Regions from separate parts of the Homo sapiens genome. Here region 1 is linked to region 2. Evidence: promoter capture Hi-C in 16 types of primary human blood cells and fetal thymus (Javierre and others, 2016). All regions are on one chromosome and are shown on one strand. Each heading gives the region's core, a stretch centred on a gene start or on the middle of the fragment in contact. The rest is flanking DNA. Distances are from core to core; before and after follow the strand shown. Region 1 has its middle 3.3 kb from the start of COA7. Region 2 holds the start of KTI12 (KTI12 chromatin associated homolog).

Region 1 (3,296 bases), core at 476-2,975, 670 kb before region 2:
CGTCTCCACGGCTAACCCACAAAATGCTGAGAGTCCCGAGGGGATCTGCAGAGGACGGCGAGCTGGGCAGCCCCCGAGCAAGCCACCTGGAACCTCCCTCAGCTGCACCAGCCACTCAGAAAGATCGGGTCCGTTTAGACACGAGCACCAATCTCAGGCCTCCAAAGTGACCTCACAGCAAACGTGATTGGTCCGGTCTCTCTCACGGGGCGGCTCCTTTACCAACGTGTAACCCTTTGGGAGAGGTTTAGCGGGCTGTGTGACCTGGTGGAAATCACTTTACTTATCTGGACCTCCTTTATAAAAAGGAGGTATTAAGACCTATCCCGAGGCCTGGAGCGGTGGCTCACGCCTGTAATCCCAACGCGTTGGGAGGCCGAGAATGGATAATCTTTCTAACAAATGGTGCTAGAGTAATTATAAACCCACATGCAATAAAGTGAACCTCAACTGTTATCTCATACCTCATACAAAAATTAATCTGAAATGGATCATAGGCTTTCTAAATATAAGATTTAAACCATAAAATTTCTACAAGAAAATATAGGATAAAATCTTAGTGACTTTGGGTTTGGCAAAGACTTCTTGAATACGAAAGAAAAAGCACAAACTATTAACAAGAGGAAAAAAATCAATAAACTAGACACACCATTAAAATGAAAAACTTTTGGTTTTGAAAGACACTGTTATAAAAACAAAAAAGGCAGGCCAAACTGGGAGAAAATATATGCAAAACTTCTGATAACGGACTTGAATATATAAATAACTCTTAGAATGCAATAATAAAAAACAATCCAATAAAAAGGGGGCGAAAGATTTTAACAAACATGTCATCAAAGATACACAGATGGCAGATAAGCACATGAAAAGATGCCAACATTATTGGTCACTCAAAAAAATACAAACTAAACCTATGATAAGATACTGTTATATTCACTATAATGGCTAAAATTTTAAAAGACTGACCACACATCAAATTATGGTGAGGATGTAGGGCAACTAGAACTGTCAAACACTGCTGGTAAGAATGTAATGGTAGAATCACTTTAGAAAACAGTTTGGGTGTTTCTTAAAGTTAGATATATACCTACCATATGATCTAGCCATTCCACTCCTAGGTATGAACCCCAAAAATGGAAATGAATGCCCATACAAAGACACGTACACAAATATTCACAGCAGCTTTATTTGTAAGCCAAAAACTGGAAACCCAAATGGATAAACAAATTGTGATATATCTACATCATGAAATGTCATTCACTAAGAAAAAGAATGAACTATTAATACGTGTGGTAACATGGATGAATCTCAAAATAATTATGCTGAATCGAAGAAACTATACAAAAAGAAACAGTACTTACTGTATCATTCTATTTAGATAATATCCTACAAAATGCAACCCATCTTCAGTGACAGAAAGCAGATTAATGGTTGCTGGGGAGGGAATGAAGTACAAAGTCACATGAGGAAATTTTGAGGTGATGAATATGCTCATTATCTTGATTGTGATAATGGTTTACAGGTGTATACATATGTAGAAACTCATAATTGTTACTTTAAAGTTATGTGCAGTTTCCTGTATGTCAATTAGACCTTCATTTAATGTTTCTTATAGCTTTAAGAAAAACCTGGGTCAAAAGAGCAAGAGTCAGTGATATTCTAAGTTCCATTAATGAAAACCAAATTATTTGGAATGATAATCCCTCTTCTTAATTCAGTCAACAATACTTGGGCACCTAATATTGCTGGGCACAATCAAGACACTGTTATTATAACAAGAATGAGCTAAGACCACATGGACGATGTCAAATTGAAGCAGAGAACTTAAGAAGGCAAGCCAAAAAAAAAAAAAAAATACAGGGGAAAAGCACTCTAGGGCAGAGGCAACAGTTAGTTCAAACGGATCACGAGGTCAGGAGTTCGAGACCAGCCTGGCCGATATGGTGAAACCCCATCTCTACTAAAAATACAAAAATTAGGCGGGCATTGTGGTGGGCGCCTGTAATCCCAGCTATTCAGGAGGCTGAGGCAGGAGAATTGCTTGAAACCGTAAGGCGGAGGTTGCGGTGAGCCAAAATCACGCCACTGCACTCTAGCCTGGATGAAAGAGCAAAACAAAAAAAAGTGACCTCTTACTTGGTTGAGCCTCTCATCACCAACTAACTCTCTTGTGCCCTCTACCGCTCAGGTGATCTCATTTCAATGCAGTTCAACTCAGAAAATAAAGGGAAACATTCCCAGATTTTAGTAATCGACATCACCCTGCTCTATTCTATCATCAAGCCCTATTCTATTCTTGGCCCTGTGACCAGCATACAGGACACAGAGGTCACAGTCTGGTGGGGAACACAGACTTTCATGCCATTATTGGCATGACAAGAAACATTCCTGGAACAGGAATGACTTTGAGCCAGGCGCTCTGCCAAGCACATTGCATACATGAACTTGTAGTCCTTCTGACAGCCATTACAAATGGATCTGCATTTACAGAAGAGGATTCAGACTCACAAACATGATTGGTTTAAGGTTACAATTTAATAAACATGGAACATGGATTCTGAACTAAGATCTGTCCCCACTCCAAAGCCAGTTCTTTCTTTCCTACTACACTATACCAGAATAAACCAAGTGGTGTGGAACACCAAAATGGGAGCATCTAAATCTAATTTGAATGTGTGTAATTGTTGTGTCTGGGAAGACTTTACATAGGAGAGTATTTCCGATTTGTGTCAAAAAGGGTGGTCCAGGCATCAAGAGCAGAGGTAAACAGGGACACAAACTTGGGATCTATTCAGAGAACAGAAGGTTGGTGGGATGTGGGGGAAGAGAGGCAGAAAATAAGGCTAGAATCAGATTGCACAGGGTCTTGAAGGCCATCCTAAAGAAGATGACCTCAAACCAAAGTTCAAGGATTCCCATCCTGGGCCATGTGTACTGAGGAGTCCCCTAAGGTGATCAGGGTATAAGAAACCACAGGTAAATGTGGTATATTGCCTGGAATGTCAATTTTACTCAAAGGCTTGGGGGAGAAAAGGCAATCTTCTGTTATCCTATGAAAGATGTATTATGGGGAAATGAATGTAAAATCCTATGAATTTAAAAAATAAAACTGGGATTTCAGACATTATTGGCTGCCTTCCAATAAATAAGTGGTTGGAAATAGTCCATTCTTTGCTGCCATTGGGGATAGCTTAATAATGGAGCCATTTGGAAAGCATTGTTATAGGCGATGGGAAGCCATGGATTTAGCTCCATTGAGAATTCAAAAGTAGGGCTGGATGGAATTCAAAGATGAA
Region 2 (3,382 bases), core at 752-3,251:
TAGTTTATGCACAGACAATTCAGTGCATAAGGAGGAGGAAAAGGCAGGGCAGGGGAGGGAAAGCTAAGCACTGGTCTGTGTTTACTTTTTTTTTGTTTGAGACAGAGTTTCGCTCTTATTGCCCAGGCTGGAGTGCAGTGGTGCGATCTAGGCTCACTGCAACCTCCGCATCCCGGGTTCAAGCAATTCTCCTGCCTCAGCCTCCTCAGTAATGGGATTACAGGCACACGCTACCCCACCCGACTAATTTTTTAAAAAGTATTTTTAGTAGAGACAGGGTTTCACCATGTTGGCCAGACTGGTCTCGAGCTCCTGACCTCAGGTGATCTACCCTCTGCCTCCCAAAGTGCTGGGATTACAGGCGCGAGCCACCATGCCGGGCCTGTGTTTACATTTATTTAACCCTCACAACAACCTACAGATTGGTAAACCTGTGAAATAGCAGTTGTTATTTTATAGAAGGGGAAATTGAAGTACAGAAAAGTTACATAATTTGCCAGTAGTTACAACACTAGTAAGTGGAGGAGCCAAGACTTGAATGTTTTTTACTATACTGTACAAGAGAGATACAAAGACCCCAGTATATGTGCATCTACAATATACACACATGCACAGGCACACTCACATTTCTGCACCTACCATCCTATAGTGCTTGCTGTTTATACAAGAGATCCAACAGTTTCATGGCTCTGGGTCTCAAACCTACAATAATAGAGTTGCCAGATTGAGCAAATAAAAATAACGGATGGCCAGGCACAGTGGCTCATGCCTTTAACCCCAGCACTTTGGGAAGCCAAGGCCAGTGGATCACCTGGGGTCAGGAGTTTGAGACCAGCCTGGCCAACATAGTGAAACCCCGTCTCTACTAAAAATACAAAAATTAGCCAGATATGGTGGCGCACACCCATAGTCCCAGCTACTTGGGAGGCTGAGACAGGAGAATCGCTTGAACTCAGGAGGTGGAGGTTGCAGGGAGCTGAGATCATACCACTGTGGTCCAGGCTGGGTGACAGAGCGAGGCTCCATCTCAAAAAATAATAATAATAAAATAAAATAAAGGATGCAGGCCAGGCACCTTGGCTCACACACCTGTATTCCCAGTACTTTGGGAGGCAGAGGTGGCACAATTACTTGAGCCCAGGAGTTTGAGACCAGCCTTAGCAACATACAACCTCATCTCTAAAAAAGAAAAAATAAATAATAATAATAAATTAAAGATGCCCAGTTAAATTTGAAGTTTAGATAAGCACCAAATAATTTTAAATATGTCTATGCAATATTTGGGACACACTTAAGCTTAAAAATGTTTTTGGTGTTTATCTGAAATTCAAATGTAACTGGGCATCCTGTATTTTATCTGGCAACCCTACTAAGGAGAAAAATTCCTATTTGTCTTTCAAGTTCTAAGTCAAATGACTATTTCTACATAAAGTCTTCAGTGATTTCTCTGGGTAGTTTGTTTTTCCCTTCTGTTCTTTTATAACCTCACCTGCATCTATCCATTATAGTATTTATTACTCTGATTGTAGGCGCCTGATCCTTCCCATTCAGACCTTTTATCTTTTGTGGGGAAAGCGTTTTATGTTCATCTCTGAATTCCCAACCTTGGAGATGTTGAATGATTGAAATGGTAATTGAATAAACATTTACTGAGAGCCAGTAGGTTTAAGAGGAGGAATGAAGGAGAACCAGCATTTATTAATTGCCTTCTATATGCTAAATATAGTGCTGATTGCTTACAATATTTAATGCCCCTTAGGCCTTATTAATAAAATGGACGGGCAGTCTTTCGCTGCAGGAAGATCACATTCTCCTGAGGCCTATAACATTTGGCATAAATAACTGATGCCATTATAGTCTCTGTATCTCCTTTCTGAGAAAGCTGAACCTGGGCCTAGCTGGCGTAGAACTCCTGTTTCCATAGAAACAAGAGGGTCTGTAAAAGTCAAGGGAGACAGGAAGAGCAGTTTGCACTTCCGGCTTACGTCGGAGACGCGTACAACCCGGAAGTTGGCGCAGCGCGGTTGCCAATGGTCGCTCCCTGAGAGGATGCCGCTCGTGGTGTTTTGCGGGCTGCCGTACAGCGGCAAGAGCCGGCGTGCTGAAGAGTTGCGCGTGGCGCTGGCTGCCGAGGGCCGCGCGGTGTACGTGGTGGACGACGCAGCTGTCCTGGGCGCAGAGGACCCAGCGGTGTACGGCGATTCTGCCCGTGAGAAGGCATTGCGTGGAGCTCTGCGAGCCTCCGTGGAACGGCGCCTGAGTCGCCACGACGTGGTCATCCTGGACTCGCTTAACTACATCAAAGGTTTCCGTTACGAGCTCTACTGCCTGGCACGGGCGGCGCGCACCCCGCTCTGCCTGGTCTACTGCGTACGGCCCGGCGGCCCGATCGCGGGACCTCAGGTGGCGGGCGCGAACGAGAACCCTGGCCGGAACGTCAGTGTGAGTTGGCGGCCACGCGCTGAGGAGGACGGGAGAGCCCAGGCGGCGGGCAGCAGCGTCCTCAGGGAACTGCATACTGCGGACTCTGTAGTAAATGGAAGTGCCCAGGCCGACGTACCCAAGGAACTGGAGCGAGAAGAATCCGGGGCTGCGGAGTCTCCAGCTCTTGTGACTCCGGATTCAGAGAAATCTGCAAAGCATGGGTCCGGTGCCTTTTACTCTCCCGAACTCCTGGAGGCCCTAACGCTGCGCTTTGAGGCTCCCGATTCTCGGAATCGCTGGGACCGGCCTTTATTCACTTTGGTGGGCCTAGAGGAGCCGTTGCCCCTGGCGGGGATCCGCTCTGCCCTGTTTGAGAACCGGGCCCCACCACCCCATCAGTCTACGCAGTCCCAGCCCCTCGCCTCCGGCAGCTTTCTGCACCAGTTGGACCAGGTCACGAGTCAAGTACTGGCCGGATTGATGGAAGCGCAGAAGAGCGCTGTCCCCGGGGACTTGCTCACGCTTCCTGGTACCACAGAGCACTTGCGGTTTACCCGGCCCTTGACCATGGCAGAACTGAGTCGCCTTCGTCGCCAGTTTATTTCGTACACTAAAATGCATCCCAACAATGAGAACTTGCCGCAACTGGCCAACATGTTTCTTCAGTATTTGAGCCAGAGCCTGCACTGACCAGAGGAGGTAGGGGGGAAGCCATGGCTTCTGATCTCCACTCCACTTTATTTCTCTGGGAAAAATAGGCTGCAGGTCTCCAGAGCATATCGATGCAGTACTGTACTAGAGCTGTTGTGACTGATTCACTCAAACTTTCCTGCATACCCCTGTGCCAGGCCTTGGGTTTACAGCATAAGTTCAGACTAAAGAGAATGGAGAACTATTGTGGTGCAACCTGGCAAATCCCTCAGAGGACAGAGCTAAGGTGGACAGGGATTACCTAGAT

Evidence for each region. The method cuts DNA at HindIII sites, captures the fragments that hold promoters and counts their contacts. A CHiCAGO score of 5 or more calls a contact.
Region 1: a contact is called between a fragment that was not itself captured here and the fragment with the promoter of KTI12 in region 2, in 1 of 17 cell types (fetal thymus). The highest score is 9.1, in fetal thymus.

What each region holds. Positions count from the first base shown.
Region 1 is chr1:52,699,951-52,703,246 of GRCh38, reverse strand. No RefSeq gene overlaps it. Among named protein-coding and RNA genes, the nearest start is that of COA7, 3.3 kb to the right of the region's middle. RefSeq lists enhancers at 1-121, 1-369. The HindIII fragment of the contact is 3,859 bases long and covers 1-3,296 here.
Region 2 is chr1:52,032,429-52,035,810 of GRCh38, reverse strand. It overlaps KTI12 (KTI12 chromatin associated homolog), which reads left to right and starts at 2,001. Exons shown (of 1, transcript NM_138417.3): 1 at 2,001-3,382. The coding sequence starts at 2,050. The coding sequence ends at 3,114. The region is part of intron 2 of TXNDC12 (thioredoxin domain containing 12); the gene reads left to right. RefSeq lists an enhancer at 1,995-2,294. The HindIII fragment of the contact is 2,616 bases long and covers 1,299-3,382 here.